Regions from separate parts of the Homo sapiens genome. Here regions 1, 2 and 4 are each linked to region 3. Evidence: promoter capture Hi-C in 16 types of primary human blood cells and fetal thymus (Javierre and others, 2016). All regions are on one chromosome and are shown on one strand. The core of a region is centred on a gene start or on the middle of the fragment in contact, and the rest is flanking DNA. Distances in the headings are between cores, read along the strand shown.

What was found. The method cuts DNA at HindIII sites, captures the fragments that hold promoters and counts their contacts. A CHiCAGO score of 5 or more calls a contact.
Region 1: a contact is called between a fragment that was not itself captured here and the fragment with the promoter of HMX3 in region 3, in 1 of 17 cell types (naive CD4 T cells). The highest score is 5.8, in naive CD4 T cells.
Region 2: a contact is called between a fragment that was not itself captured here and the fragment with the promoter of HMX3 in region 3, in 2 of 17 cell types (M2 macrophages and naive CD4 T cells). The highest score is 5.2, in M2 macrophages.
Region 4: a contact is called between a fragment that was not itself captured here and the fragment with the promoter of HMX3 in region 3, in 4 of 17 cell types (M0 macrophages, M2 macrophages, naive CD4 T cells and 1 more). The highest score is 7.5, in M0 macrophages.

The regions. Positions count from the first base shown.
Region 1 is chr10:123,275,829-123,281,087 of GRCh38, reverse strand. No RefSeq gene overlaps it. Among named protein-coding and RNA genes, the nearest start is that of LINC02641, 69 kb to the left of the region's middle. RefSeq lists an enhancer at 5,238-5,259. The HindIII fragment of the contact is 3,397 bases long and covers 260-3,656 here.
Region 2 is chr10:123,305,762-123,311,408 of GRCh38, reverse strand. No RefSeq gene overlaps it. Among named protein-coding and RNA genes, the nearest start is that of LINC02641, 39 kb to the left of the region's middle. The HindIII fragment of the contact is 1,235 bases long and covers 2,971-4,205 here.
Region 3 is chr10:123,133,278-123,138,382 of GRCh38, reverse strand. It overlaps HMX3 (H6 family homeobox 3), which reads right to left and starts at 2,413. Exons shown (of 2, transcript NM_001105574.2): 1 at 1,933-2,413; 2 at 1-1,325. The coding sequence starts at 2,332. The coding sequence ends at 652. RefSeq lists enhancers at 101-1,065, 2,248-3,198, 5,076-5,105 and silencers at 1,985-2,034, 2,045-2,454, 2,505-2,584, 2,965-3,094, 3,125-3,244 and 1 more. The HindIII fragment of the contact is 8,924 bases long and covers 1-5,105 here.
Region 4 is chr10:123,355,280-123,360,583 of GRCh38, reverse strand. LINC02641 (long intergenic non-protein coding RNA 2641) reads right to left here. Exons shown (of 12, transcript XR_007062326.1): 2 at 5,199-5,262; 3 at 1,976-4,722; 4 at 82-300. Among named protein-coding and RNA genes, the nearest start is that of LINC02641, 10 kb to the right of the region's middle. The HindIII fragment of the contact is 3,142 bases long and covers 1-2,924 here.

The DNA of each region.
Region 1 (5,259 bases), core at 709-3,208, 140 kb before region 3:
AGAGAGGAGAGCCTTCCACTAGTTAAAAGAAACCTGTTTCATTTTTCTGGGGGAAGAAATGAAAGTAAGGTTTTCCAATGGCAGACATCGAGTCCTTTTATTGAGACTAAAAAGTGCAAATCCATGGAGGAAAAAAAGAAAGAAGGGAAAAGAGACAGATAAGAAAGGGAGGGAAGGAAGGAGCCAAATGAAGCTGGCAGAGCCGTGACTGGAGCAGCAGGGTAAATGTTGAGGGATTAAAGCAAATGAGCATAAAGCTTATGCATTTGGGAGGCGCCCATACCTTCTTAGGTGTTAGCAAGATTAATAAGAAAATCTGTGGCTTAGAATCCCCAACGAGCTATTACAGGACTTCACAGTACTGTGTTTGCTCAAAACAAATGGTGGCTGCAGTATTTTAATCTCTGAAGAGAAAGAAACTCATATGTGAGTGAGAGGCTTAGATTCTAAAAGGATTTTATATAGAGACATATATGTCACAGAACACAACCCCCAAAATGGACTTGCTGTTCTCATCCAAAAGTAATTATTGCCAAAGAACAAGTGATGGTTGAAGAGACTGCCCCTCCCAGAGGCGCAGTGAAAGGTAGAACCGATTAGAAATAGAGTCACAAGTTGGATCAGAACACCAATTTCATAATTGAGTAAAATGTACTCCTTCTTCTTTTCCTTATGAAAGTAATTCCCTGAAAAAAAAAAAATCAAGTGAATTGAATTACCCACGTACAAATGGCACCCTTTCAGCTGAGCAGACATCACCCCGTATTTCAGTCCGAGCAACTTTTAAATTACGTGGAGAATTCATGGAATGTTTCTCAGTTTGACAGCTGTCAAGCCAAAAAGCATGCTGCTATGTAGGAAGCAAACCCTCCAAAGATTTATTTTTATAATGGATTGGAAATTAAAAGGGCTTCAAAATGCCCTTTAGAGACACAGCTGGGGGAATTGGGCAGAGTTACAAAGAGACTTTTCCTTACAAGTGCTGAGAATTGGGACTGAAAGGGCAGGTCAGAGGCATTTGGATTGTGTCTACATGAAGCCAAAACAAGCATTTGAAAAGTTAAAGATGCAATCAAGCCAGTGGGTCATTTTGTCTACACAATACCAAAATGCCAGATTGGCCAGATGTGTTCCACCAACTCTGAAGTGAGAGAAAGGGAAACAGAAAGGACCTTTGAGCAATAAGCCAGTACAGAGGAAGAAACTGAGGCACAGGACAGAAGGAAGGGAGAACTCTCCCAGGGTCCCGTGACCAAAGAAAAGATGGAGCAAAGTCAGAATCTGGGTAACAGCAATCTCAGAGGGACTCCCCAAACCAATGGACAGAGACCTCAAGTTGGGCATTTTTACATAGGATGAGGGGCCATTGGGATGCCAGATTTCGCAAATAAAAATTCAGGACAGTGAGTCAAATTTTAATCCAGATACACAGTAAATAATTTTTAGTTTAAGTATGTCCCATACAGTATTTGGATACTAATTACTGAAAATTATTCATCGAGTATCTGAAACTCAAATTTAATCAGGCATGCAGTTAAGTCTGTCAACACTATGTGGGGACATTTCTTGGGGACAGGAACAAAGTCTGACACATCTCTCTTCCCTGCCCTACAGCAGCCAGAACCACATGACACGCAGAGCAGTCCGGAGTCTGCGACTAACCAGGTAGATGACACCAATGGGCTTCAGTGGCACCTAAAGATCTAGGAGTTATAGGAGCCTGGTGCTTTCCCACAAAGTGTCCCATTTAATCTTCCTAATCACCCCTCAGGCTAGGCCTCATTACCTTCCACAGTTCACAGATGAGGAGACCAAGGCTCAGAGAAGGCCTCGGTGAGTGGCAAGAACATTGTTTCCCAGGTGCCTGGACTCCTCGAGCACCACTTTTTCCACAACGTTAAGAGGAGCAGGCCAGGCGCAGTGGCTCACGCCTGTAATCCCAGCACTTTGGGAGGCCAAGGCGGGCAGATTATCTGAGGTCAGGAGTTCAAGACCAGCCTGGCCAACATGGTGAGACCTCCCCCCACCCCAATCTCTACTGAAAATACAAAAATTAGCTGGGCATGGTGGCACACGCCTGTAATCCCAGCTACTCAGGAGGCTGAGGCAGGAGAATTGCTTGAGCCTGGGAGGCAGAGGTTGCAGTGAGCCGAGATCATGACACTGCACTCCAGTCTGGCTGACAGAGCAAGACTCTGTCTCACAAAAAAAAAGGGGGGTGAGCAGCCATGCCTCTGGAATAGCACCCCCAAGGCCAGACTCCACTCCAGACACTGCATGTTTCATCCTTAACCTCCTCAACAACCCTGTGAAATAGATAGGCGATTTTCCTCATTTTCTAATGTAGAAGCTGCAGCACAGAGCAGTGAAGACACCCACCCTGGCTCACACAGCCAGGACCTACCCAGCTGTCTGACTCATGCCCTCCCTGCTACACAGCCCTCCACCACAGGGCCCTATGGCCTCCATCATACCTCATCACACCAAGACCTGGTCAGGATTCGCAGTTCATATAAACACAGCCATACTCCATCTAGTGCTCTAAGAAGAATGCAAAACCCAGTATGCTCTGTTGGGAGCTGCTTTGGCCTACAGGCCCAACCTGCTGCTGTGACATACACTTGCAAGACAACAGTAACTCTCCCTGATCAGGAGCTGGCTGTGGAGCAAAGGCACTGGGGCAGAGGCTGGGGCATGGTGTGTTATGGCTGTGATATGGTTTGGCTGTATTCCCACCCAAATCTTGAATTGTAGCTCCCATAATTCCCATGTATTGTGGGAGGGACCCACTGGGAGATAATTGAATCACAGGGGTGGTTTCCCCCAAGCTCTTCTCCTGGTAGCGAATAAGTCTCACAAGAGCTGATGGTTTTATAACGGGTTTCCCTTTTCTCTTGGCTCTCTCATTCTCTCTTGTCTGCCTCCAGGTAAGAAGTGCCTTTCACCTTCCACCATGATTGTGAGGTCTCCCCAGCCATGTGGAACTGTGAGTCCATTAAACCTCTTTTTCTTTATAAATTACCCAGTCTTGGGCATGCCTTTATCAGCAGCATGAGAATGGACTAATACAGGCCTTAAGGCCCAGCTGTAGCAGGCTTCCTCCAAACAACAGGACACATCTCTCTACTCTGAAAATGCAGATTGGGGTTTGCTATGGATTTTGACATAACTGCTACAAACCAATATGACCACTTGATGGACATTGCCCTTTAATTGCTGTGCTTCTAGAACAAATTAACATTCTCCTTATAGGAGAATGTGCTTTGTGCCTGGGATGTCTGTGAATCACTTCTGCCAAACTTGATTTCTGCTTATACTTAGAGATGCCTTTCAAAGGGATCCCATTTAGCACGAATGCTCCAAAGCCTCTTCAACTCCCAGTAGCAATTCAACAAAACAGTGGACACTCCCCAAGGGCGCAGGTGCCATGCCCGCTGTACAGAAGGAAGATGTGGTTGGGCCTGGGATGAGGCCCTGTGGGGGTGGGGAGTGCCATCTGCAGCGGGCACAACTAGATCTCCCAATAAAACCCCGCAGAACCAGATGCAGGTCTCATCCTTGGCTTCCAAAAGCGTGGGCGTGAAGAACTAAACTCCGAAGTCAGATGGCTGCACTCACGGCCTGGTGCCACCACCGCTAGGTGACTTGGGCAAGCTTTTTGTCTCTTTTAGGCCACAGTCTCTCATTTCATCCTCATAACACATATCGAGCACCCAATAGATATTAACAAAAAATCAATCAAGAAATACATCCTATTCTGAACTCTAAACTCCATTGTGCTATGAATTAGAATTACTATCCAAATATGAAAAAGTAGCACTTACAACTAACACAATGGAAACAACCTACCTCTTAACCCAAAAATTTATTCCAAAGTATTAAGGCTATTGTGTAAAAGAATAAGATTTATAAAAATAGTAGTGAACAGATCTTTGAGAAAATTTCTTTGACAGGGGAAAATCCTTTCTGCATAAGAAGTTGCTCACTGAGAGATAGTTATATATTTTTGTGGTTTTTTAATATGTTCTTTTCACCCAGTGGGGTGAGAGGGAGTCACCCGTCTGTCCAGTTCCTCCAGCTGAGGGGACGTAAAACCTCAGCCACAGCTTCAGTCCTGCCTTGTGCTGAGCCATGTTAGACCCCTACTCAAGCTCCGGAGTGTGCTCCCCTCCCTGGGCACCCACACCTGGATGACACCCCCTTCCTCAAGGACTGGAATGCAGCATACCCCACAGCCGATGCTCCAAGTAACACCACTGTAAAATTCCACGTGTATCAGGATGCCTGCTGCACACCAGGATCCCAGGCCCCCTTGCCCTCCTGGCCAGGAGGCACAACTGCAGAACCTCCTGTCTGTCCTCAAGTGCTTGCTTGCCCCACTTATGGAAGAGGACCTTCCCCTGAGGCATCTGTGCTGGTGTCCTGTGGCTGTTGTGATAAATTACCACAAACTGAGTGGCTTAAAACAAGGGAAATTTATCATCTCAGAGTACTAGAGGACAGAAGGCCAAAATCAAGGTGTGGACAGGGCTGTGCCCCACCAAAGGCTTTAGAGAATCCATTTATTGCTTCTTCCAGATTCTGGTGGCTGCCAGCATGTTTTGGCTTTTGGCCACATCATCCCAATCTCTGTTTCCATCTCTTCCATTACCTTCCCCTCTCTGTGTCACATCTCCCTCTGCTTCTCTCCTATGAGGACACTTGTGATTGCATTTAAGGCCCACCTGGATAATTTCCCATCTCAAGATCCTTAACTTAAATCACATCTGGGAAGACCTTTTTTACTTATAAAGGTAACAACATTCACAGGTTCTAGGGCTTAGGACTTGATATATTCAGAGCGGTTACAGTCAGCCTGCCAGAGCCATTCTTACCTGCATTTTACAGATTAGAAAACCACTTCTCAAGCTGAATTAGAGTGAGAGTGCCCCAGAGTTGGGATCTGAACTCTAATGAATGTGGGATATGGATCGAAGGGATCCTTTTCTGACTGATACCTTTGAATAAAGGATGCACAGAAGCTCTAAAGAGACCCTTCTCTCTCCCTTCCCCCCGCCCCCCACCCCCAGAGCTGCTCTCTGGGAAGGAAGGCACCTCTGGAACATCTCCCGAACTTCACCTTGACAGATATTTCCAAAAAAAGAGTCTCATTTTCAGAAGACAAGAATGGGACGGACAAGGAAACAGGACAGGACAGGTGACTTCCATGGCCCTCCCTGTCCCAGTTCTGCCCTCCTGGGCTTGTGAGTCTCTGTTGAG
Region 2 (5,647 bases), core at 2,339-4,838, 170 kb before region 3:
CTATCACAGGATATTTCTAATTATGTAAAGCCACCACACAGGGTCTGGCACTTAGTAGATGCTCAATAAATGGTAGCCATTACTATCCCAGAGTGAAGAAAAGATAACCGTTGAATATCTACGGTCTTCTGTGGAAGCACATGCATCCACGCTGGGGGCCAGCAGTGGTGGTGTAAGAGCATATCATGGGCTCAGCCTCCAGCAAGAGCCTCTTGATCCCAAGATGACCAACAATTTTGAATTGGGCATTGGTCAGCCCAACACAATCTTGTTGTCCAGAGAGCCACGGACAGGGGCAGGCTTCCCCCAAGCTTTTCTCTAGAATTCTGGGGCTGTTCTGGGCACTCATGGGGTCTTCAAATATTTAATTCAAATTAATTATTTACTGTACATAATTTTTATCATAATGATATGCCTTCCAAAATTGAACACAATGGAGACACACCCAATGCATTATCTGGTATTGCAACTTGTTTTTGAGCACAGTTTTTCTGATCTGTCACAGACCAAAAAAAGAAACAGGAAAAAAAAATTTTAAAGACCACACATCAGAATAATTTTCTCCCTTATTACTGTTTAATTAATGAATATCCTTACATTTCAAAGTAAGCTACTTTTTAAAATTACCATTTGCAAGCATAATTGGTTCACTGCTATAAAAATAATACTCTTACCTGAATTGGATGCTGAGGCTGTTATAGGCTGCAAGTGTAACTCATAAACCCAAATTCAAAACAGTCTTATGGTTCTCATTGATTGATTTTAAAACATCATTCATTTGAACTTCTAAATTAGATTTAGACTGCCAAAATGCCCTTTTTTATCTGTTACATATGTTAGAATTCCCAATTAAATTGTGTTTGCAAAAGACTCCTAACACAGTTTATAGGCCATTAAGAGAGCCTGGTGCAATCCCCAATGAGGGCCAAAAAGTGAGAACCCTTCCAGATATCCTAGGAGAGCTTGGGCCAGCTGACAGCACTTTAATATCACTGAGCTCCCGCTCGAACCCCAACATTCTCTATGCTTCTGAAAAGGGGGCCACTTTGACTTGGGATTCCAGACTTTACAGTTAAAAGAACAAAAGAACCATGGGAAAAAAGACTGGAAGGAAATATGCTGAAATGCTAACATGCTAACAGTGCTTTTCTCTGGGTGATGGGATTCTGAGTGACTGAATTTTCTTCTTTCTTATTCGGAAGTTTTCCACAATGATCATTATAAATTGGTATTTTGGCCAGACACATTCCCTGCCTACTCACATTATTACTTTTTTATTCAGAAAAGAAAGTAGGATTTTGTATGTTCTGTTATTTAAAAGGAAGACCATATAATATCTTGGCTTCTGTTGTAACCAATCCCTCCCACTGCTGGCCCCACACCCAGAAGAATGAGGAAGCATTAGGCAGCTCCAGAAATGCAAGGCCTCCCACCACCACCCACACCCCACACTCATGCATCCAAACAGAGGCAGTCAGGTTCCAGGCCTTCAGCCTCGCATTACTCAGTGTACCCAAACCGGATGAAAAAGAATGAGAGCAAAGTTTAAAAACAAAGTGAACTCGGCCAGTCAGCTCGTCTTTCCTCTTTCGGTCCCTCTGACTCCGTTCTCAGTCATAGCAGGCTTTCCCCACTTAGGGCTGTAAGCTCAAGCACATAAAAATACAAGGGTCCCAGATAAGCAATGACAAAAAAATTTTAAGTGTAAGTATGTCCCAAATATTGCCTGGGACTGTTCAAAAGTATTTTTTGCTGTTTTTAGTCATTTTAGTATTGGTTGTTTATCTGAAATTAACTCTAAATGGGCATTCTGTATTTTATCTGGCAGCCCTATCCCCAATTCAAACCAACTGACTCACCATTGGAGATGTTTTTGTCCAGTTTGGTTTGATTCGGTTGGTTCTTGTTGCTCATGGCAGGCAAGCCGATTTAAAAAACAACAACCAAAAAACAAAACCCTCAACCAAGGTTTTGTTTGTTGTTGTTGTGTTTTAATTGGCTTGCCCGCCAACTCTCTGACACTGGGCAGGCTTCAGTCTCCTCAAACGAATGAGTAAATGTCACTCCACCCACCTTGCACATGGCGAAGACACCATGAGATGATGAAGGGAAAGAATCTGGGAAGTAGGGCTACAAGCAGGTAAGCCACCCAACAAACTCAAAATGGAGAAAGCAATGAGTTGCTTGCCTTTTCTCCTTCTTTGTGGGAAACACTGGGACACTACAGCTTCCACTTAAAACTCTATGGTATATGTACAAAGACAATGAATTAAATACTTAATATGCAGACAATTCCAATAAATTAAACAACTCCAATAAAATAAAAAGAAAGCTGCCAGCACCTAAGTAGAAAAATGATGAAACAGGCATTCCAGTACAACATGCTTCACCAGAGCACCTCATGGTAGTGTCCTCAACCTCGCCAAGCCTCAGAAGCCCCCACTAAATGTGGAGCATAGTGGCTACTCATGGGGTGAATGTGAGGTCTAAATGAAATAACGCATCCCATAAAACACTCAGTGCTGGCACTGTTCCCTCAGTTAATGATGGCTGTACTTAAGTCAAAAAAATATATATATATACACACATCTCAAAGAAAACACATATGTGTGTATATATATTAAATATGTTTTTCTTATATATTATATATAAATAATATATATTATGTGTGTACAGATACACATATATACATACGTATTTAATGTTATATTTCTCATATATAATATATAATATATAAATAATATATATTTCCTTTGAGATGATTATATATAATACTTATATATGACATATATAAGATAATATTTATATATGACACATATAAGATAATACTTATATAATACTTATATATGACATATATAAGATAATATATATACTTATAAGATAATTTTTATATATGACTTATATAAAAGTAAGCAAAAAACAGGGAAAAATTTCTACTTTATTAGAAATAAAATAAATTGAAATTAAGCTTTACTTATGAAATTGGCAAAGGTTGTTAATAACTTTAATAACGACATTATTTAAAAGATCAAAAATGTTCATAAATATTAGATAAATAGAGAACAGTTAAATAGACAATAAATGAATGATTAAACATATAAAGAATGGTTAGATAAACTACGGAATTTTTTAAAATCAGAGAATGAGTGAATTATGGAATTCTTTATGTTGGACATTCTAGGGAGTCACATTAAGTGATGTGTTATGATGAAAAAGAACATTTGATGATATGAAATATGTTCTTAATATAGTGAATGAAAAATTTCAGAATATGATGTACAGTATTATTATATTTGGATTCATGGATATGGATACAAATAAAACAAAGACAATGAAAGCACATAAATATTAACGGGAGTTATATCTGGGTATGGATGGTTATGGGGAACATTTATTTTCTTCTTTGTACTTCTCTACTTTCCACATTTTCTATAATGACCATATAGTACTTTTGTAATTTTAAAAAAAGTTGGTTAAAAAATTCAATACTAAAAAAAAATTCAATACTGAACTATTGGGAAGTGAACTTAGTTTTAGGAGATCACAGAGTGTTCAGTGTATGTGTATACAACAGTCTCCCCCTCCTCCTCCTCCTCCTTTTTCTTCCTCTTCTTCCTCTTATTTCTCTTCTCTCCCTTTCTCGCTCCCTCTTCTGGCCTCCCCTTCTCCCCCCTCTTCCTCCCTCTCTCCCTTCTTCTCAGGAAAACTACAGTAATGAGCTCCAGCTTCCCCCTAGCACACTGCCTTCACTGAGGGTCCTCCCAGAGTCTTGTGTGAAGGGCAGTGCAGCTACAAACTCTCTATTTTGAGACATCCCACATTAAGCATCTCGGGGCAACTTTCCATTAGAATTGCTCCTTCTCCAGTCCCTAGCAGACAACTTCCTTCCATCCCAAGAGCAGGAGGCTGCCCTTAGGAAAGGTGGACCTATCCTAGTCTTAGAAATAGCAACAAAGTTTAAGTCGAACTCTTCCAGGTCATTTTCTCTGAACTTATACCAACATCTGGTGACTGCAATCATGCACTCATTCTGCAAAACAAGATGTATCAAGCACCAAAATTCAGACGCGCTTACGGAGCCCTCAGCCTGAGGAGTAGCTGGCGCTAGATTCTAGAACCCCCAAGATGCAATAAGACTGTTGTAATGGGGATGCACACATAGCACATAGGGAGTAAGAAAAGGTGCCCAAGAGTCTGGGAAAGCTTCACATAGGGGAAGCCCAAGAACGACTGCAGTTTGCAAGCAGGGAGGAATATTCCAGACCAAGAAAACAGAAGACTCAAAGCTACCAAATTCAAGACCATGGCTTATCTAGGACCCTATGTTTAATGTGAGTTGTGGAAGGAGAGGTGATTGGGCCAGCTCCTGCAGAGCTCTGAATGACACTGTAAAGAACATCTGCTTGCTCCCAGCAATGCTATGCAGTGGAGGGACATGATGAGATTGTCCCAGGACCAGCCCTCCACATGAACACTCCACCTCAGTGTCCCCTCCCCTATTCCCATGACGCACAGAAGGAAATGTATCCCAAAGCCTCAGTTTCAATAGGCACTACAGAGGGGTTTATCCGAAAACCAGGCTAGATGAGGCCAGGAGGCTTCCAAGCTTCCAGAGCTCCACAGAAGAGCTGTCCCCATTCCTCGCCTTGCTAAGACTGAATCAGTTGTCATCCTCCTCTCGAACTCAGACATAATCATCACCAAACCAGCAGGCACCATCACCAGTCCTAAGAAAGCCTGGAGTCATCTCGGCATGCATGCAGGAAGGAAAACCGTCCTTCCCAGACACTTGTCCTTGAGATTCACACCACCTTTCCTAGGTCCTCCCTGAGCACCCAGCCTCGGCCCACCTAGATGTTTGGAAGTGGCTGAAGGTGATGTGCCTGCTCCCATCAGGCCAAACTGGCAGTCTAGGGACTCTGGTCGACAGTGAGTGGACTCTCTCCAGAATCCTGACATCGGGAGGCAGCTGAGATGGCCTGTATAGACCGTGTCCTCTGCCCAAGACAAAGCATCCCTCTGGCCATGTACAGCAACCCAGAGAAAACAAAACAAAGCACCACCATCCACTCCTTGCCTGCATTGGCGCTGGTTTCTTTAAATCCAGTTGCAATCTTAGAAGCCCGAGATTGCCTGAAACAAAAGGCTCACCGATCTCCGGAAGATGACTTTGGTGAAAGTAGAGCTCATTTCAGAAAATCAAAGCAAAGAAAAATATTGAATACAATTCAGAGGCATAATGCATTATTATGAGCTTTTATGGATTTTATGTGAAATTTCATGTAAAGTTAAGAGGCTGAAGCGATCTCTTACATTCAGCTGTATTATCAGCCCAGCACCAAACAGTGTTCCACATCTTATTATGCTCACAGTTGACACACTATTAGAGAAATGTGCAGCTGTCTTACTCTGCTATTCATTTCCTCATTACTATTTTATAAATATATGATTAACAGTTATTGCAGCTGCCTAATTCACATTTATTGCAAATGCAACCCCACAAATGAATGCTCAAAGCAAAGAGATGTGGTTTTAGAGTAATTTAAATTTTACAGTTCCATTTACCCTGCTTTTTAATTTACTGTATAATGACCCTATTAGAATAAAGCACATCTGGAAGTTCTTTGGGGAACATTTAATTTTCTGT
Region 3 (5,105 bases), core at 1,164-3,663:
AGGTCAGGAGCTCAAGACCAGCCTGGCCAACATGGTGAAACCGCGTCTCTACTAAAAATACAAAAATTAGCCGGACGTGGTGGCACACACCTGCAATCCCAGCTACTCGGGAGGCTGAGACAGGAGAATCACTTGAACCCGGGAGGCGGAGGTCGAAGTGAGCCGAGATCGCGCCACTGCACTCCAGCCTGGGCAATAGATAGAGCAAGATTCCGTCTCGGAAAAAAAAAAAAAAGCAGAAAAGAATAAACTAGAGGGATTTAGGTTTTGCGCTTATTTTCCTTCTATAAAAATAAAACCAAAAAGCCACCGCGCAATGGAAATTTGGAAGGGAGGGCTGCACATTTTACAAAAACTATCGGCCGAAATCTCTGACCCGAAAATTTTGTCTTGTTCCTGCTTTCTCTTAATATAAGCCAAAAACCAAAAGTAAGAGGGGAAGCGCCTCCAATCCATTAGGGATGAATTGCACGAAAATGCATTGCAAATACTTACAAAATGCTACCGACTGGGGGAGGGGAAGCAGAGGCTGCGCGCCCAAGCCCCAGTTCCTGAAGGCCGCTGGACTTCTCGGCGCCCTCGGCCCGGCCCAGTCTCCTCCGGGGTCCGGACAAGGAGGCCGGGCGCTCCCTCCCCCACCCCTCTGGGGCCTCAGACCGGCCGTAGCAGCGGCACGGAAGAGACCACCGGGTGCGAGTAGTAGACGGGGTGCGGGAAGGTGAGCAGCGGCTGGCTGACTGGCACCGGGGCCCCCGCGGCTGCAGCCGCCGCGCCCTCGGCCGCCGAGTTCTCGTGGTAGAGGATGGGCACCCGCACGATGCGCTGCGCCGCGGCATGGCTCAGGTTGGCCGCCTCCAGCTCCGCCGCCAGCTGCCGCTTCCACTTGTTGCGGCGGTTCTGGAACCAGATCTTGACCTGCGTCTCGGTGAGGTGCAGGGACGCGGCCAGGCCGGCTCGCTCCGAGCTGCTCAGATAGCGCTTCATGTCGAAGGTGGACTCGAGCTGGAAGACCTGGCTGCGCGAGAAGACTGTGCGCGTCTTCTTCTTGCGGCACGCCGGCTTCTTCTCTGGACTTTCAGCGCCCTTCTTCCAGTCTTCTGCGCCCGGAGTGGCCGCCGCCGCCCCTACGCTCGCCCCGGCCGCGCCTGGCGCCGCTTCGCCTTCCTTTTTGCTTTCCTCGGAGTCGCTCTCCTCCAGAATGATCTCGTCCGGGCTCTTGGAGTCCAGCTCCTTGTGATCGGGGTCGGCCTTGAGCAGTGGCTCCGGAGAGTCGCGGTCTGTGCCGGAGGCGGGGGAGGAGTCTCTCAGCAAGGCCTTCTCCGAGGCTGGGGAGACAGACAGACGGACGCACACACATGCACACCGACACAGCCTTGAGCGAGGCCCGGCGCCTGGGGACGGCAGGCTCAACCCGCGCCGGCCTCCAGGTCCCAGGCCATGAGGCCTCACCATTCCCGCGGGCTGCCTCCTTCTCGGCTGGGCCAGAGAAGGGACGCCGAGTCCTGGGATCCCCCTCCTCCCGAGGACAGGCAAGCAGATGGTGGTAGCGCGGCCACCTCCTTCCATTCCCTCAGCTTCCTCGCCAGGGGCCGGCAGAACGGTTCCCTTTCGGCTTAGGCGCATTGGAATCACCCCCTCCTTCCAGGCCGTGTCCCAAGCCCCGGCCGTCCGAAGCCTCCCTATTCACGCCCGAGGCCACTTTTCCCGGGAAGCACCGTGCCCGGGGCTCCAATTCCACTTCTTTTCTCACCAAGTGGGATTGGATTAACGGGCAGCGCAACCCAGCGCGAGGGCAGGCTAGGGGCCGAAAAAAACTGACCGAGCAGAGGGTTTGCGGGTGCTGGGGTCCCAGAACTGCGGAGGGAAGCAGCGCGGGGCGGGGACGGGGCGGGCGCGCAGGGGGACAACGAAAGTTCAAAGAGAGGTCGGTACCTTCAGGTCGCGGGAGGTGGCCGCCGGCGGGGGTCAGGGTGTAGGGGTACCACCAGGCTGGGGAGCGCTCCAGGTAGTGCGCGGGCAGGGCAAACCTCTGCGCCGGGATCTCAAAGCGAGGGAAAGCCAGGTCGCCCACCTGCGAGAGCGCGAAGCCCGCGGCGCCCTCCAGGGCCCCCTTGGCCGCCGCGGCAGCGGCAGCGGCGGCGGCGGCGGCAGCCGAGGCTGGCGCGAAGAGCGTCCGTGGGGGCGGCTGAGGCTTAGGGGGCGGCCGGTGGTGGTCTCCGTTGAGCAGGTTCTTGATGGAGAACGGGGACTCCTTGGGAGCGGGTGGGGGGGGCGGCGGCGGTTGGGGCTGTGCGCTGGCGGTGCCGGCAGCGTCCGGCCCGGGTTCCGGCATGGTCCCCTCTCCTCCGGGTCCCCGGGAGGGAGGGAGCGGGACAGGCGGGCGGCGGGGCGAGCAGGCGAGAGGCCGGAAATCAGACCATAAACGGAACTCAACTACGGGGCGCAAAGTCGGGGGCCGCCCCGGGCGCAAATCCAACGGCGGGAGGGCGGAGTGAGGACCCAGACGGGCGGGCTCGCATGAGGGAGGGGTGCGGAGGGGCGGGGAGCGGCCCTGCCGCGGCACCGAGGGATCGAGGCGGCTCGGCTGCGGCTGCGGCTCCCGCGGAGGAGGCAGCAAGAGCAGTCCCCGGCTCGAGGCTGCGTCAATCCGGCGCCGGATGCTAATGATGAAATCAAAATGTCATCCAAGTTAAATGCGGGGAGTATACGGCGATTGGGCGCGTACAATGGCAAATGGGATTAGGCAGGCGAAGGCTCAGCCGAGCCCCGGCCCCGCAGCCGCCTCCGCCACCGCCCCCTCCTCGCCTTCCCTCGGATTTTGGCGCTTTGGCTTCGGGCTATAAGAGCCCGCCCGTTATTGGCTTTATATAGTCCAATTAGGCAGCAAATGAGGACAAGCCTATTAGCACAAAAGGATATTGGCTCCCGCTAAAGAGGCACTCGGAGCGCTCCTGCGAGCGCAGGAGGCGAGCGAGGGACGCGGAGCAGGCGGCGCCCTTGGCCGAAGCGCACTAACGGCCGCGAGCCCGGAGACCGCGCCTGCCTCTCCCCCCTGCGGCGCAGGGACCCGCTTCCCGCCGCCAGGCCTGCGGGAGGGGGGAGGGGCGGACCAGGCCCTCCCGGGTCACCTCGGGGTTATCTGCGCTCGCAGCTGCCGCTCCCCCGCCCCCTGGGGCTGGACAGGGGCCCGCCGCCCCCACGCAGCTGGAGAGCCACGCAGCGCCGGCCCAAGAGGCAGGACGTGACCTCGGCCCTCGGAGAACTCATCATTTTCCTACCCTTTGGGGTCCGGCGACCTCGGTATTTTTCCTAAAGCCTGCTAGGAAGGGCGAGGCCAAGAAGAGAGGGATTTGGGTTCCCCACCCACCATCCAGCCGATAGTAAGGGAATCCAGGTGTAAGTCCTCGCACTGCGTCTTCGGACTCAGAAATCCGCGTGGCCTTGGCCTTTAGCCCTGGAAAACCGAAGAGTGAGCCTTCCCCCGGGACCAGGAGTGGGTGTGCCTGTGTGCGTATGCGCGCTGACCCGGCCAAAACCCGCGCGTCACTCGGTGGGGCTGCTGGGGCAACAGCTTCTCGGCACCGACGGCTGCTCTCGGAAGGGCACCCCTCTGCTCTGGCCGCCGGTGCCCAAGGCTCGCGGATCAACTCCGAGTCTGTGACCCCGACGACAGCACTTTCTCCCAGGAAGTCTCTCCGGCCAGCTGGCGTTTGGAGCTGTCTAACTAACGCTTTAATGGGGGCAAGGTGAACCGAAGGCGCAGCGGCGTAGCTTCCTCCGCCGCGGCAAGCAGCGGCATCCGCTGCGCGTCTCGACGGCAGCGAAGTCCTTAGAGAACCACACTGGACCTTTGCAGAACGGCTTAGTGAAAGGACATTCCACTCCACTGGCTTTAAAAACAGCTCCCCGGTTCGCACGAGAAGCCCATGAGGCAGACATTTAAGACTCATGATTTAAGCATCAAGTAAATCAGAATTGTTTGTGAGGTCCCCTCCCGAGAGACAGCTTTCTTATCAGAGAAAGGTGACAAACTGGCCTCACCCTCTTCCACCCTGGTGAAGCTCCCGCACACGAGGGCTTTTTGGGATCCCTTCACCTCCCCACCGCTTTCTTTTTCGTTAGATTGAGCCTCGCCTAATTCAAGGCCGCCCTGCATTGGCAGACGTGATCGTGTGGGGTCCCCACTTGAGAGGTAGATTTTGTTTTTCGGTCCTGGGGCGTCAGACCCTCCCCCACCAAATCTCGACGGGCATATGTAATGTTTCTTTCTGCATTCATCTACAGCAGCGAACCCCATTTTTGCTTTGGAAATCTGGAAACGTAAATGGCGCTTCCATAAACAATTACTGTTATTACTCCCTTGAGTTTACACAGGGCTTTACTGGAATGCAAAACGCTACGCCATCCAAAATCTGGGTTGGAACGGATCACTGCCCTGAGACCCCAGCAGGGTGGGTCTCATACTTGGATTTTGTAAGTGGAAACCCGCGCCCAGAGAGGAGGAAACTGGGCCTAGGTCGCCCAATCGCTGCTGGATACCCAGAGGTCATTTTCCCCCAACCGCAGAAATAGCTCGATGCACGTAGGTCTATGAGGGTTGGGTGGGCACCGCCTGCACACAGCCTGCCACGCGGCCGAGTATGCGTGGAGAGACCCCGGCGTGTATGCCTGTGTGTTTTGGGAGCTTCGCCATTCAGCGCAGACGCATGCAAACTTGGCTAGAGTTCTGACGCACGAAAGTCGACTTTAAACTGGGAATGCTGAGGGTTCAGTCTGGGGAGGGGGACTCGTGGCTGATCACAACTCCAGCGCTAGACTCAGATGGGGAGGGGACAGGCCCAGTGTGGCGGGAGAAGAGTCCGGGACAGCCGCCCGCATCCCTGCTGTGCGGCTACCGGATCCCGGCTTTCCGGTTGTCGCCCCAAGTTCTCCGGTTGACTCCCCTCCCAGGGGCGCGCAGGGGCGCTGTTATGTGCTTGTGTTTGGCCCGGGAGAGGAGCTTCTCCAGTGTCAGCACTCTCAGCCCATCCTCTCAGTTTTAGGGATTGCTGGGCTTGAAAAGCGGGATGTATTGAGTAGATCTTTCCCTTCCCCTTCGAGAAAGC
Region 4 (5,304 bases), core at 104-2,603, 220 kb before region 3:
TAATGCCTGTGGGAACCAGATTGCCACAATCATTGCCCACACTCAGAATTTCCCAGAGACTCCCAGCCTCAGCAGTATTACCAAGTCATGCCTCCTGATCACCATCTTCATCTTGCAATTCTTGGCATGTGAGTTGTAAGCAACAGTGATGGCTGTGGAAGGTATGGCTGCACCTCGGTGATCCAAAATTTTCCCAGACTCACACTCTTCCTCAGGATTAAAACACCTTTTTGATTTTGTATCTTGGAGACAGACAGAAACAAATTTTCCCGAAGCAGGAGTTGGATGATAAAGGAATGCCTAAAGGCGGATGCCAGGTGGAAAGTCATGGCATATAGTAAGTGCTCAACCAATTGTGCTGAGACAATTATGACTAAGAGTAGAACAACTCTGATGGTAACAGTAGTAAAACAGGCACGAATCCTCAGAGAGGCGAGGAGGTAGTGACTTATCTCTGTGAGTCTAGGTGAGGGTCACTTGGCATTGCCCGTCTGTCTCGGTGACAGGCTGGCTGCACCGGGTGCTGGGTCCACTGTGTAGGAAGCCACTAAGGAACATTCTGCAGGGACAACCCACTGACCCAGTTCTTGGGCTCAACTCCTAGGAAGATCAGACTCGATAGATATAAGAGATGCTCAATTTTTCTACAGTTCTAGAGAATGGGAAAGAGAACCCCCATGCAAGCAAGGATGCATAACCTAACACTGGGAGCAGATACCATTTCCTGTGAGCCTCAGTCACAACCACCCAATATCAGCAAGCTATGTTATCACCAACCCAGAAAAGGGGAAGTTACTTGCCAGAAGTAGTAGGAGGCTGGGGTTCAAACTCAAGGTCCTACATTCCTTTCACTGTGCAGCATACAAATAGGGTGCTTTTTTGTTTTTGTTTTTGTTTTTTTTTTGAGACAGAGTCTCACTCTGCTGCCCAGGCACGATCTCAGCTCACTGCAACCTCTGCCCTCTGGGAGATTTCAAGCTATTCTCCTGCCTCAGCTTCCGGAATAGCTGGGACTACAGGAGCATGCCACCACACCTGGCTAATTTTTGTATTTTTGGTAGAGACGGGGTTTCACCATGTTGCCCAGGTGGGACTTGAACTCCTGACCTCAAGTGATCCACCTGCCTCAGCCTCTCAAAGTGCTGGGATTACAGGCTTGAGCCACCGCACCTGGCCTAGGGGGCTTTTCAAACTGGGTTTTTTCTTGCTATTTGATGGGTGTTTTTAACAGAATGAGGATCAGACTAACTCAGTCCAGGTGGTGGGAATAATAATGGAGTCATCCTGTGGCCATTCAGACAGCAGCTGGAGGCCCATGTGCTCTGGCAGCCAGTTGGTGATGAGTGCCCAGGAGAATCAGAGAGCAGGAGCCAGAATTGAAAGAAGCGGGCTAGAGACAGTATGAAGCACGGTAAGCGATCAGATTGACAGTAGCTGGCAGCTTCAGCAATGACCCAAGGTCAGCAGAAGTGAGTAGGAGAGTCTGGAAATGCTTTCACGTGAGCAGTATTCAGCAGGGCCTGCCTGCGCTCAAAAGTGTGACTCCAGGGACCCATTCTTCCCACAGGAAGCCAGCTCTTGGTACCACCATAGCCTGGATCTAACAATGACTTAGCAAGTAGCTGAGACCATAGGGAACAGGGACCCTGTCCACAGCCTCCACTTCCGTTGATTCCATATCTCCAGCCCAAAGGTTCCTTGAAACCCCAGAGGCTAAAGGGGCCTTGAGCCACAAGCCCAACCTTCTTCCTGGATGGCCCGGGGGATTGTTTCTGCTGCTGTCGTTTCTGCTCATGGATGCGGGCCTCCCACTGAAGTCTCCACTAGCGGTCCCCATACACAGAAAGAAAAAGAAAGGCCCAGGGCTCACCCAACACCCAAAAGTGTTGCCAGTCCCTGACTCAGCCTCCTCAAGCCCCCCAGGGAAGCAAACCGAGCCCCACAGCCTCCTGTTTCTCAACCCCAACTCCCATACCTTGCCATCCATCTCAAGGCACAGAGCTCCTCAGCCTTGCGTTTCCAGTAGAACAGGCCCAGCGTGCCTGCAGCCGCACACCCCCACATGTTATTCTTGCCTTTATCTTGTTAGCATAATGCTCAGCTTCATTAGCCAGCCAGATGAATCATTTAGTAATTGGAGCTAATGAATTTAATTTTCTACTTTCTATTTTTTTAATAATAAAACAAAGTCATATTTTACCAACAGGTCAGGGAAGGCTCCAAGTTGCTGTTTTGAGTCAACGTTAGGCCAAGAGTACAAAACGGCAGACGGGGAAGGAGTTGGCTCCCTTTTGCTGATGTCACCGCCTTTTCTGGAGTTTCTCGGTTAAGGAACCCCATGGAAGCATTATCCCAAAGTTCTACGGAGAATGATACTAAGGGCCCGCATGAAAAATTGATGTTGCCATGGTGGCAGCATTCCTAATAGGACAGTATGAAGAGTAGGAGGCACTCACAGAAAATAAACAATGCACAGAGTTATCAAGGAAACACCCTGATATCAATTAGATGAAGAGCTATAAGGAATCTATTTATCTTGGAGAGATTTCACTCCAAGGGTCCCAGTACCCCTCAGTCAGGTGAATTGGATGGATAACATACACCTTCCTTCTCACTCCCCGTTACAGAAGACGCGAAACCCAACAGTGAACCCGTACCTGAAATGTCAACGTGGGAAGCCAGGCTAATTAGAGTGGGGCCAACCCGCCCAACCGCATAGCTGACATGCACCCGCTGAAGCCTTCTTGTAACTTGACTACCCGAAGCCTCATCCCTGATTAACAGAGCCTAGCTGCAAACTAAAATGCAGTTAATTTATTGTAAGTTTTATTAGGCATATAAAAGGGAAGCAGGAATGACTAGCCTTTCGTTGCTCGAGATACATTTCATCCATGACACGGAGCAGATTCCTCATAGATTAAGCTTGTTAATTTCCCTCCCCGCCAACATTCTTCTCCGCATTGCTGAAGCAAAAGCCACAGGCTCTTGTCTGAAATGGATGGGATGAAAAGGGCTGGGGGCCCCCCGGACAACAGTTACATTAACCACTTTGTCCTTTTAATTCATCTAATTACATGCAAGGAGAAAGCTGCCGCCTTAGCAGGCTCGCTCTGCGCCAGAGCGCGATGCCGCTGGGCCATTGCTTTGGGCTTTTTGTTGTCTTATTAGGGGTGCTTTTGTTCAGAGGGATGGTTAAAGCCATTTTCAGCAGCTAGCAAGATGAAGCCGCTTCAATAAGGACACAATGTACTTGTTTAAATTACCTTTCAAAATGCTCAAAACCATTAAGGGGGAGGGGCTGCAAAGAAAAGTTGGATTTTTTTTATAATGTTTTACCCTAATAACAGCTTTTATTTTATTATAATCCATTAGTTGACAATATTATTCTATAGATTATTAGGCAGCAATTTTGCTATTTTATCACACTTTCAGCACTCACTCACCGGGCCAGAATCCACAAATCTCAGTATAATATGCTTTCAATTTTGTTAAAATCTCTATTTAACTGGTTTGGCTGCGGAACATCTTGGCAAATGTGTTTTTAATTTCGTTCTAATTAACTTGACAGTTGACAGAACTCGATGGTGGCATGATGGTGTCCCCTTTTCCAGGGTCCCTGCAAGCTCCATGCCTAGGGTCCATTTTTTTTTTTTCCTCTCCCATCCTAACAAGGAAGATGTCAGAGCTAACATCCAGGAAAAGGGTCTTTCGTCTCTGTCAAAAGTACATGCAATTTTTTAAAAACCAATTAAAAAATCTGGCTTTCATCTTTATCTGTAAAAAGAAGGTCGTTGGTTCTGTGGGGTTCTCAAAAAATGGCTTGTCCTACGGATGTGGGTCCTGAAAGATGAAATGAAGACAAAGCAAGTGGGAGGGAGGGTTTTTTTTGTTGCCCAAGAGGACGCCAGCTCTTTCCCAAAGAGATACTGTGAAAGAGTGGCCATCCTCCCTCTCTGTCACCGGTACTCGGTGGGGAAAGAGACTTCAGTTCTCTGCTTTTGGGGATCAGCCTGAGAAGAGCAGCATTCAGAGAACTTACCCTTGTTCTTTAAACAGTTCCAAATTATCTCTATTGTCTGGGGAATTTCACTCTGGCAACCATTCTCCAGGTGCCCTCTCTGTCTTTGCTTCCAAAATCCTGCAGCATCCCAGAATCCAGCCTTCTCTCTGACCCTGAGCAAGCAGAGATACAAGCAGGCCTAGATCACACCACAACTAAGACAAATAAGTCATGCCTTCCTGACGTGGAGGTGAAACAAGTCTCTGTAAAACAAATCTAATCTTCCCTCTGGTTTTCCTTATATGGAGATGGGCCTCCAGGGGACTGTGTGGAAACCGTTAGCTGACTTGAGACCAGGTCCTGGAGTGACTTCACAACCCGCAGTGAATTTGGGGCATCCATTCTTGCACCTTTTTTGCACTGTTGCCCTCCCCGCCCCCACTCTCTCTCTTTCCCTCCCTACCTTTCTCACATGTTGTGAATTTGCCCATCACTGGAAATTCCCTGATTCCACATTTGTACCACTCATTACGCTTCTGTTCAATTATTAAGAATGTCAGTCCTTCCAGGACCCTCAGAGATGAATCACTATAACATCTTCCTCACATTAATGACAAAAAATCTCACTGCTCAAGGGACTTGACTCACCAAGACACTGGCCAGCAAGAAGCAGCAGCCTAGGACTGGATCCAGGTCTTCCGACTCCCAGTCCATGCCCTTTCCTGAGATTTCCATTGGAAAAGTTCTAGGTTTTGTCAAAACATACACATGCACACACACATATGGTCTTTTTTCTAGTCTTCAAGTCTGAATTTTGAATTTTCATTTTTATTTTTTATTTACAACGAGAATGCTGCTACAGAATTATCAGGGCTATTAGAGTAAAACAAATTGTTTGGTGTTCATGTTTTAAAAAGGTACTATGTTTTTAGCCCCAAGCAAACAAAATACAGATGTCTAGACCAATAATTTTCAAACAGGAGGTATTTTGCTCCCCAGAGGACATTTGGTAATGTCTGGGGACATTTTTGGTTGTCAAGACTGCAGCTAGGGGTGTGCTACTGGCATCTAGTTGGTAGAGGCCAGAGATGCTCTTAACCACCCTATAAAGTGTAAGACCCCCACGCAACCACCACAAAGAACTATCTAGCCTCAAATGCCAGTACAGCCCAGTGGACAAGCCCTGCCCTCTCCTTACCTGGGAGTCAGATTCAGGTTCAGGGAGCTTATACCTCACTCAGGGAGAAGAGAAGATGGTGAACCTGCAAGGAGAATGGGTGGAGCCAAGTCCAGATGACCCACGA